2 separate regions of the Homo sapiens genome follow, and region 2 is linked to region 1. The links are contacts of gene promoters, found by promoter capture Hi-C in human tissues and cell types (Jung and others, 2019). All regions are on one chromosome and are shown on one strand. The core of a region is centred on a gene start or on the middle of the fragment in contact, and the rest is flanking DNA. Distances in the headings are between cores, read along the strand shown.

The links. The method cuts DNA at HindIII sites, captures the fragments that hold promoters and counts their contacts. A contact is called where the count stands out against the background at its distance.
Region 2: a contact is called between a fragment that was not itself captured here and the fragment with the promoter of FAHD2A in region 1, in 1 of the 25 tissues and cell types used here (adrenal gland).

What each region holds. Positions count from the first base shown.
Region 1 is chr2:95,400,910-95,406,624 of GRCh38, forward strand. It overlaps FAHD2A (fumarylacetoacetate hydrolase domain containing 2A), which reads left to right and starts at 1,799. Exons shown (of 8, transcript NM_016044.3): 1 at 1,799-1,963; 2 at 4,644-4,894. The coding sequence starts at 4,650. RefSeq lists enhancers at 569-1,508, 1,438-1,517, 1,509-2,447, 2,588-2,707. The HindIII fragment of the contact is 15,771 bases long and covers 1-3,238 here.
Region 2 is chr2:95,362,063-95,367,696 of GRCh38, forward strand. All of the region lies in intron 2 of KCNIP3 (potassium voltage-gated channel interacting protein 3), which reads left to right. Among named protein-coding and RNA genes, the nearest start is that of FAHD2A, 38 kb to the right of the region's middle. The HindIII fragment of the contact is 3,502 bases long and covers 1,793-5,294 here.

The DNA of each region.
Region 1 (5,715 bases), core at 549-3,048:
TAATGATTAATGATGTTGAGCATCTTTTCATGTCCTAATTTTTTCTTTCTTTTTTTTTTTGAGACAGAGTCTTGCTTTGTCGCCCAGGCTGGAGTGCAGTGGCACGATCTCGGCTCACTGCAAGCTCCACCTCCCGGGTTCCCGCCACTCTTCTGCCTCAGCCTCCCCAGTAGCTAGGACTACAGGCGCCCACCACCACGCTCGGCTAATTTTTTGTATTTTTAGTAGAGATGGGGTTTAACTGTGTTAGCCAGGATGGTCTCGATCTCCTGACCTTGTGATCCGCCTGCCTCGGCCTCCCAAAATGCTGGGATTGCAGGCGTGAGCCACTGCGCCCAGCCTTCATGTCCCAATTTTCTGTCTGTATATCTTATTTGATGAAATGTCAGTTCAAATATTTTGTCCATCTAAAAAATTGAATTGTTTGATTTTATCTACTGACTTTTAAGCATTCTTTCTATATTCTGGATACAAGTCTTTTTATCAAATATAGCCTTTACAGATATTTTCTTCCAGGCTGTAACTTAGCTTTTCAGAAAGTCTTTGGGAGCTATGGCTTAGTGAAACCCTTGTGCCAGGTTCTCCTCAGCGAATCCCCCTGATCACAGCCACCCCCATAGGTTCCATTTCAATATCTGTGGTGACCTTCTGCAAGCTAGGCTGAAGTCCCAAGCTCCAGACCCATGTCTCCAACTGCCCACCGTTCAATGCCCTTTGGATGTCCCATGCAAATCGGAGCTCACCATCCTCTCCCCAGACCCGCTGCTCCTCCAGGAGCCCTGTCTCCATGAACGGCCCTGCACCTACCGAGCTAGAGACCCAGGAGTTGGCCTTGTACCTCCTTCCTTCTCACTTCCACCTCCTGTCATTCAGAGCTGTCAGTTCTTCCTCCTGAACATCTCTGGACACTCACCTTCTCCACCACGCACCGCACCACCATTGTTCTCAACCGCACCACCCACCCAGACACCTTTCCTCAGACGGGTGGCCAGAGAAAAACTTCTCAAATAGAAGTCGGGACATGGCACGCCACTGAGAACCTTCCAGCGGTCTCCTGTGCACGTAAACAAGGTCCAGACTCCTTCGTGGGACAAGTAAAGCTCTTGATGATCTGGTCCTTGAGTAATGTGGGGGCCACTTGTACAGAGCCCCTCACACTGTTCAAAGTCGGCAGCTGAAGAGCTGAGCAGTAGCTGTCTGTGGAGTTCAGCTGCCACTCCCTACACGCCTGCCCTCTGCAGGGGATGGAGTCCCGTTTCCCCACTTCCCCACCTGCGCCCAGCAGTGCAGGTGAAGGCCTGGCTGCGGAGAGTGGCTGGGAAACGCTGCGCTTTGGGGTCAGGAATGCCAGCTCCACTACTCACCGCCTGTGTCACCCTGGGAAAACAGCTCTGGCCCCAGGTTCTCCATAAGTAAAACGGGGGCAGTCATCCCTCCCCTCCTCAACGACATATGTCAGAATCAGAAGCCACAAATCATTCTCTGCCACCCAGCACGCTGCCTTGGTCTCCTAGACCACTTTCCCCAACAATGGGAAAGGCGCCAGGCCCAGAACAAGGCCGAGACCGGATGAGGCCAGCGAAGCGCCCAGGGACAAACCTTCGGGCAGCGCCCACTCTCGAGTTCAGGCAAGTGCAGGGTCCCTCCGAGAGAGAGCGTCTCCAGAGAACGCGGCTGGCGCCTGGCTGAACCCGTAGCCTGAAGACCCGCCGGAGCCGCCCGCCCCACGATGGGCCCGCCCCTCCGGGATTGGCGCCCTGCTAGTGGCCATTGCCTGTGACGTCACAGGATCGCGCCCGCTTTTCTCTCGGGTGATCCGGCCGAGTGGCCCTGGGTTAGCAGCTGCTGCATTTCCCCGGCTGGCTGCGGTCACTGGTGGCAGTGCTCAGGCGCCCGCCGCCCTTGACCTTCGGCCCCGCGAGCTCTAACCCTACAGCGCAGGAAGATCGGCCGCCGCGGCCAGGTAGGACGAGCCTGGCTGGGTCTAGGCCAGAAGGGTGTCCGTGGCGCCGGTCTCCCGCGGAGCGCAGAACTAGTACCGGATCCCCAGCCGCTTCTGACCACACAGACGGGGCGGACCTGTGTGAGCACTCACTAACTGTCGGGGCTGGAGCTGGGCATATGGGGAAACTGGGGGACCGGCACGGGTTCCAGGCGAGTGGACGGTGGGATGGAATCCGACGTGCACACCCATGTCTCAGGCTTTGTTTGATGGAGGCTACTGTTTCCACCTCATGTCGCCGCCCCTTTGCTTATGGACTCTTGCAGAGTTGGATTGAGCTCGGGCTGTGTGATATAGTGGTTGTTGCAGAAGCCCCAGGGCCACTTTCTGACTAGTACCTTGGGCACCTGACATCATCCCTTTGAGTCTCAGTGTCCTCTTCTTTAAAGTGAGGGCGCTCTACCTGAGGAGATTGCTGTAAGGTTGGAATGAACCTGCATGTGTGTGTCATGTGGGAAGGGAACAGTCAGTGGGGCCTGGGGTTCTCTTGGAGAGCTGGTAACCAGCCTCGTCCCTGAGGCAACAGCCAGAGGGCGCCTGTAGTTTCCCCACGCATGTCTGTTAGCAGTTACGGCCTCTGGAGGATCTCCTGTGGGAGGTCCCTACTTCTCACTACAATCTTTAGAGACTTTGGAGGATTTCCTATGGAAGGTCCCCACTTCTCACCACAACATTCTGGGTTAAAATGGCCTTGGTAGGGGGATGGGGGCTGAAGCTGGATTTTTTTGCTTGCATTACAAGCTTCTGAACCAAGGACTTCATGTCACCTGGACTTGGATTCACATCCCAGCTCCTTCCTCTCCTAGCTCTAGGACTGTGTAACCTTGGGCAAATCTCTTAACCTCTTTAAGCCTTAATTGTTTCATCTGTAAAATGAGGCTAACAGTACCTACCTTCCACAATTGTCGAGAATTAAATCAGACATTGTAGGTAGAGCACTTAATAGTTGGCATTCAGCGGCAGCAGTTACTGTTATGTTAGCATGTGGAGTGTCTGAGTGTGTGCACATTGGCTCGAACAGCCTTTTGACAGTGGCACAGTTGGTGCTTGTGTAAGACAGCAGGGCAGAGAAGTCAAAGCCCTCGGTTTTCTAGTCAAACTGGTGGGCCACAACAGTGGTGACCTAAGTCTAATGAATCTTCAACTGAACAAGGCAGATTGAATCTCCAGGTGAGGACCAAGAGTCTGGGGATCAGCTGCCTCCACATTTTTGGGCATAGAAGGCTGTACAATACCGCCTTTGTTGTAAGAGCAAGGAACCATTCAGGGAAGGCACCATGTGGTAAGGAATAGAGGCCAGACGTGGATTAAGAACAAAACAAGAGAATAGTGTTTGTCTTTAAGTGGAGCCTTGGACTCAAAACAGGATCTGAGCCCTGAGGATTTTTTTTTTTTTAATTGAGATGGAGTCTTCGTCTGTCACCCAGGCTGGAGTGCAGTGGCGCGATCTCAGCTCACTGCAACCTCCTTCCCCTGGGTTCAAGCGATTCTCGTGTCTCAGCCTCCCTAGTAGCTGGGATTACAGGTGGCTGCCACCACACTCGGCGAGTTTTTTGTATTTTTAGTGGAAACGGGGTTTCACCACGTTGGCCAGGCTGGTCTTGAACTCCTGACCTCAAGTGATCCACCCACCTCGGCCTCCCAAATTGTTAGGGATATCACGCATGAGCCACTACAACTGGCCCTTGTGGGAAGGCACAGCCATGTCTCCTGAAGTTAACAAGCACTAAGCTTTCCCAAGTAGTGAAATGTCAAGCCCCTGCTTCTGTCACTTATTTGTTCATTCAGCAGAAAGTCACTGAGAGCCTTCTGTGCACCAGGCACAGTGCTGGGCAGTGAAAGAGACAGACATGTGCCCTGGACCCAGGGAGATGACAAGTGATGGCTGTCAGGCCCAGACCCTGTTGTTTGTCTGCAGCCTCTTCCCTCAGGCAACTTGTTCTCTATCAGGAGAAACGAAATAATTATTATCTGGAGAGGCAGGTGGGGGCGCTGCTCCTAGAAGACTGGGACAGCCTGGTAGAGGTTCTAGCTTGATCATGTGAGCAGTGGAAACCATTTTAAGTAGGAGGTTAACAGGACCAAAATAGCATTTAAAAAATTGTTTATGGCCACTGTGAAGCCAGTTTCACCAGCGTCACTTGCCCATGCTGGGCTGCCACCCAGCTAATTCCTGGTCCTGCTCATTTAGCCCAGCTCAGCTCACATCACTTCCTCCAGAAACTAGAGAAGGGTAGAGCCCCTGACCATCTTCACAGCATTAGTCCTGATAGCTGAATCTTACGTCAGTTGTTAACATCTGTGACCTGTGCAGGGAGAATGGCAGGGCTGAGTTTCACCTACATTGTTTCCCCAATACCTACAGCAGAGCCAAGCACAGTGGGAACTTTCAGAAAGCACTGGTTGAAGGAACGCTGGAATCCCTGGGACTTACTGCGTAGCATGTAGTAGTTGCTCCTCTAGAAAAGTTTCACCTTATGAAGTATAGCAGGTAAAATACAAGCCTGGACCACTTCCCGTGTGGTATGCAGGGAACGGTTGATGGGGCAAAGGGCCTCGGGCTATAGCCCTAGGAATTTCAGGGAACCTGATGATGGCTCTGGGATCCTCTGTCTCCTGGATCCTGCATTTTTCTCTGCAGGCTCTGATGCTGGTGTCTGGTAGAAGAAGGTTACTCACAGTTCTGCTGCAGGCTCAGAAGTGGCCCTTTCAACCCTCCAGAGACATGAGACTAGTGCAGTTCCGGGCACCCCACCTGGTGGGGCCTCACTTGGGCCTGGAGACAGGGAATGGTGGAGGGGTTATCAACCTCAATGCCTTTGACCCCACACTCCCGAAGACGATGACGCAGTTCCTAGAGCAGGGAGAGGCCACCCTCTCAGTGGCAAGAAGGTAAGTAAGTGGGCAGCATCGCCCTGAAGCAGCTGCCCTGGTCCCCCTGCACCCTCCCCGCTCTGGGAAACAGCACCAGCAGGTAGCTCTTTTGCAAGGGAGCAGAGTAACCCCACCTTTCCTTTTCTCCCGTTCTCTTAAAAGATCCTTAGAAATCTTACATAATAACATCTTCAGTTTTCAGAGGAGAAAACTGAGAGCTAGGGGAGGTGATTAACAATTTGAAGGCCATACATGTGGTGCTGGAACCAGGACTCTATACTTCATCACACTGCCTCCTCTGGGAATGAAGTCCTGGACTGACTGACGGGTCTGGGCCCGGGGGTCCTAAAAGGCATCTTATGCAGCTGGGGGAGTGATATAGACTCCCAGCTCCTACAAGGAGAGAGGACTGCAAGGAGGTTTTCTATAAGACACTTGGTTCCTGGGTTTGGACTAGATTAGGTGAGAGTGTCCCTGAAGCCTGGACCCCTATAGAATCTGGTCTAAGGAGCTGATGAACAATAAATTAAAAATACTTTAAGATGTCATTTTCATCTATTAAAATGGAAAAAAATACAAATGTTTCACAGCTCACAGTATTAACAGTATGTTCCCATATTGCCATATTCTGCAAAGACTGGAAATCTCCATGCCCCTCATTAGGGACTTGGGTATATCTCTATAGAGCAGTAATATGCAGCCACAAGAAATAAAGAGGACACTCTCTATGTATTGTTACATATTGTTAAGCAGAGATCTCCAAAATCAGTTGTTTTTTTAAAAGATGTAAATAGTATGCTATCATTTGCATACAAAAGGGTGGGAGAAGAATATCCATA
Region 2 (5,634 bases), core at 2,294-4,793, 37 kb before region 1:
TGCATGCACGTGGAGGCAGACATAGCTGTCTCTCCTACCCTTTTTTTTTTCTTTTTTTTTTTGAGATGGAGTCTTGCTCTGTCACCCAGGCTGGAGCGCAGTGGTGTGATCTCAGCTCACTGCAAGCTCCGCCTCCTGGGTTCAAGCGATTCTCCTGCCTCAGCCTCCCGAGTAGCTGGGATTACAGGCATGCACCACTATGCCCGGCTAATTTTGTATTTTTAGTAGAGACAGGGTTTCTCCATGTTGGTCAGGCCGGTCTCGAACTCCCGACCTCAGGTGATCCGCCCACCTCGGCCTCCCAAAGTGCTGGGATTACAGGCATGAGCCACCACACCCGGCCTCTCTTACTCTTCATATAAGGCTACCAATCTTATGGGATAAGGGCCCAACCTTGTGACCCCACGTAACCTTGGTTACCTCCTAAGGACCCTATCTCCAAATACAGTCACACTGGGGGTTAAGACTTCAACGATGAAGTTGAGGGGACACAGTTCAATCCTATGCACTAGTAAACAGAAATCTGCATATGCACCCCTCGCATGCACAGTTCACGGTAGGGTTTGCGCTCCTATGAGAATTTAATGCCGCTGCTCATCTGACAGGAGGTGAAGCTCAGGCAGGAATGCGAGCAGTGGGGACCAGCTGTAGATACAGATGAAGCTTCACTTGCTCACCTGCCGCCCACCTCCTGCTGTGCAGCCCAGTTCCTAACAGACCACCGACTAGTACTGGTCCTCGGCCCAGGGAGTTGAGGACCCCTGCACTAGAGTGTTTCAGAATTACCATTGATCTACATATTTGCCAAAAAAACTTATTTTTTCATTATTATTATCTCTTAGCAATCTAGGAGGTACTGCATTCTCATGCTAATTTACGTGTTCCTGTTTATTACTGAAATTGAGCCATCTTTTGGGTTTGTATCCATCTTTCTGGTTTCCCTTTCTGCTGATACCTGCTCTAGAGATTCTTCTTTCATCATTTGTGAACACTCTACGCTATCTTCTTCTATTCTGTTGAGTGTCTCACTCTGACCTTTGTTGAACAGAAATCTTTAATTTTGATGTAATCAGATTCATCCTTTTTTTTCCTTGTGGTTTGAGCTTTTGGAGTTTTAAGAAATCTGTCCAGAATCTTAGGTTAACAGGAGGCTCTTTTACATTTTATTATAGCTCTATCATTTACCATTCACATTGGGGTCTCTAATGCACCTGGAACCTACATTTGCATGTGGGATATGGAAGGAGTCTAGATTGTTTTCTTTATGTGGTGATCCAGTTTTCCTAACACCATCTACTAAACACTCTGACCTTTTTTCCCATAGCTTTCATGAAATTCCCTCCTACACGTCACTCTCTTTTTTGAGCTCTCTGGTCTGTTTGTTGGTACGTTTGTCTGTTCTTGTACCAACCATACAATTTTTATTACAATGACTATACAACATGTACTAGTGTCTGAGAGAAACTCCTCCCTTGTTATTTTTCTTTTTAGGTTTTTATGAATTGTTTGTTTCTCCATATACATTTCAGTGTGTGTTTATCAAGCTTTCCAAAAAAAAAATCCAACTGAATTTTTTATTGGAATTGCACTGAATTTACTTACAGATTACTTTGGGGAGAAATGACATTAATATGTGGCCATAAGATGGAATGTCTCATGTATTCAGAATATCTTTCCATGTAGAGGTCCTTTGAGTTTTTATTACTACTTAGAGATACTCTTTAGTTTTATTGCTATTGTGAGTGTTTATCTTGGTATTTTTAATTATATTTTCTAGATGGTTATTACTGGTGTAGAGAACTGCTATTGATTTTTGTATCGATTAATCTTATATCTGGCAACCTTACTGAACTCTCCTGTCTGTTGATTCTTTTAGTCCCTCTGGGGACCCTATCATCTAAATAATGTTAATTTTATCCTTTACTTCTCAATTCGTACACTATTTATTTCTTTTCTAAATTTCCTAAGAGCATTGGCAGGACATTGATTAGTGGGGACTGTGGCCAAACTTGTCCCAAATATTAAAGGGAATGTATCTAAGCTTTTGCCATTAAATCCAATATTTTCTGTAATTTTTTTTGTAAATATGTGATTTGCAAATATAAGCAAATCACGTTAAAGAACTTCCCTTTGACTCCTGGTTTGCTGAGAGTTTTTTTTGGTCATCGTTTATTTTAATTATAAATAGACATGAAAGCTTATCAAATGCCCTTTCTGCATTAAGATTTTCATGTGATTTTTCCTCTTTATGTTCTTCCAGATAAAATCTTCTTGATCATGATGTACTTAAAAAAATGCCATTGGCTTCATTTAGCTAACATTTGGTTTAGGGTTTTGCATCTGTGTTCAAAAGTGGCATTAGGCATACGTTGTTCACTCTCACTCTTGCGTTTTCTGATATGGTTTGGATGTTTGTCCCCCCCCACATCTCATGTTGAAATGAATCCCCAATGTTGGAGGTGGGGACTAGTGGGAAGTATTGAATCACGGGCGCGGATCCCTCCTGAATGGCCCAGCACCATGCTCATGGTAATGAGTGAGTTCTCTCCATGAGTTCATGTGAAATCTGACTTTTATACAATTTATATAATACATTAAAGAGCCTGGCACCTCCTCCCTTGTGTCTCTTGCTTCCATTCTTGCCACGTGACCTGCTTGCTCCCTCTTCACCCTCCATCACGATTGGAAGCTTCCTGAGGCCCTCACCAGAGGCAGATGCCAGCACTGTGCTTTGTGTACATCCTGCAGAACCACAAGTGAAATAAACGTCTTTTCTTTATAAATAATGCAGTCTTGAGGATCACTTGAGCCCAGGAGTTTGAGACCAGCCTGGGCAACATGACAAAACCCTGTCTCTATTATAAATAAAAAAAATTAGCTGGTTATAGTGGTGTGTGCCTGTAGTCTCAGCTACTTGGGAGACTGAGGTGGGAGGATCACCTGAGCCTGGAAGGCTGCAGTGAGCTGTGATTGCACCACTGCACTCCAGCCTGGACAACAGAGTGAGACCCTGTCTCAAAAAAATAAAAAATTTACCTAGTCTCAGGTATTCCTTTCTAGCAATGCAAGAATGGATTAACACCTTGTCCTTATGTCTTTTTTTTTTTTTTTTTTTTTGAGACAGAGTCTCTCTCTGTTGCCCAGGCTGGATTACGGTGACATGATCTCAGCTCACTGCAGCCTCCGCCTTCAGGGTTCAAGCAATTCTCCTGCCTCAGCTTCCCAAGTAGCTGGGATTACAGGCGTGCACCACTGTGCCCAGATAATTTTTGTATTTTTAGTAGAGACGGGGTTTCGCCATGTTGGCCAGGCTGGTCTTGAACTCCTGGCCTCAGGTCATCCACCCGCCTCGGCCTCCCAAAGTGCTGGGATTACAGGCATGAGCCACCGCACTTGGCCCCTTATGTCATTTTTTAAATCAAAATTACAATATTGACCACATGGAGATCATCCACGATCCTTGTAAGAGCAGTTTTCTTGGAGTGGAGTAAGTTTGAGGGAGAACAGGAGGAGAGGAAGTGAAGGCAGGGAGTTACAGGAGGTGAGAAAAAGGCTTAGGGGAAAATATGGTCAAGGAGTTTTGTTGTTTTTAATGGAAGAAATAGCAGCAGGTTTGGAGTTTCTGTCTTATTTTGTTTCTTGGCCCTCGGGAAAGAGGATTAAGTTCATCCTACTCTGTAGTTCATGGGATATCATCAGCCTTGACCCATTTACAGCCTCTCATTTGTTTTTCCTCTTTTACACCCCTATTTCCCTCCTCCCCATAGCTAAGTATTCTCATTTTTTCTAATTTAAATTAATGTAAAATTTACCTTTTTGGCTGTCTAGTTCTATGAATCTCGATACATGCATAGTCATGTAACCATTACCACAATCAAGATGTGGAACAATTTATTTTAATTTAATTTAATTTTAATTTTTATTTACTTACTTAGTTTTTGGAGATGGGGTCTCTGTCGCCCAGACTGGAGTGCAGTAGTGTGATCCTAGCTCATGGCGGCCTTGAACTCCAGGGCTCAAGCAGTCCTCCCACCTCAGCCTCCTGAGAGGTAGGACTACAGGTGTGCACCACCACACCGGGCACCTGGCGATATAGAACAATGTCGTCACCACAAAAAATTGCCTTATGCTGCCTCTTTGGTAGTCAGCCCCCAGGCAGCCACTGATCTGTTCTCTTTCCCTGTAATTTTCTGTCCTTTTATCTTTTCCAGACTGTCCCATGGATGTTGTCAGACATGATCTGCCTCTGGAGTCTGGACTCTTTCACGTCATTGCATGTGCGATTCATTCATGTTTTGCGTGTGTCAGGAGTTTGTTCCGTATTGTTGCTGAGTATCTTTCCTTGTGTGATGTACCACAGCTCATCCACTCACCAGTTGGAGGGCATTTGTATATACAGTTTGGGGCAATTTTGAATAAAATTGCTCTAAACATTTGCCTAAAGTTGAATATAGTAGCTTTCATTTCATTTGGGTAAATAACCAGAAATGGGATTGCTGGGTCTTATGGGAAGAGCCTCTTTATAAGAAAGTGGCAACGTGATTTCCAGCATGGCAGTACCACTTCTCTCTCCTGCCAGCAACATATAGTGGTTCCCGTCGCTCTGCATCCCCCCACTGCAAGCGCCCGACATTGTCAATATTTGTTATGTAAGCAATTCTCATAGGTATATAGCAGTATTTCACTGAGGTTTCAATTTGCATTTCCTTAATGGAAAATGATGCTAATCCTCTTTCTTGTGCTTATTTTATCAGCGTTTTATCCTCTATAGTGAAGTGTTTGATTAGGTTTTTTGACATTTACTAATTTGAGTTCTTTGATTTCTTACTGCAGAGTTTTGAGACTTCTTTATATATTCTGTATATCCTTTGTCAGATATGCAGTTTGCAAAGGTAATATTTTCTCCCAGTCTGTGCTTACCTTTTTATTTAACAATATCTTTGTAATCCCAGCACTTTTGGAGGCTGAGGTGGCCGGATCACTCAGGAACTCCTGAGGTCAGGAGTTCGAGACCAGCCTCGCCAACATGGTGAAATCCTGTCTCTACTAAAAATACAAAAACTAGCTAGGTGTGGTGGTGCGTGCCTGTAGTCCCAGTTACTCGGGAGACTGAGGCAGGAGAATCACTTGAACTCGGGAGGCAGAGGTTGCAGTGAGCTGAGATCATGCCACTGCACTCCAGCCTGGGCGACGGAGCCAAACTCTGTCTTAAAAAAATAATAAAATAAAATAAAAATAAAAAAACCAATATCTTTATTCTTCTTTCACAAAATTATTTTAGCTATTCTAGTTCCTCTGTCTTTCTAGATAAATTTTAGAGCATGTTGTCTGTATGTACAAAAAAACTCTTGCTGGGATTTTGATAGGAATTGTATGAAATCTGTGAATCATTTTGGAGATAACTGGCATCTTTATAGCACTGAGTCTTTCAATCCATGAACATAGTTATGTTTCTTCCATCATTTGAATCCTCCGTGATTTCTTTCATCAGCATTTTGTAGTTTTTGGCATACGGATTATATACATGTTTTGCAAGATATATACCTAAGTATTTCATTTGTGAGATGAGCAATTGTAAATGGTATTGTTTTTTAAGTTCTGTCTTTTTATTTGTGTGTAAGATTTTTATTCTAA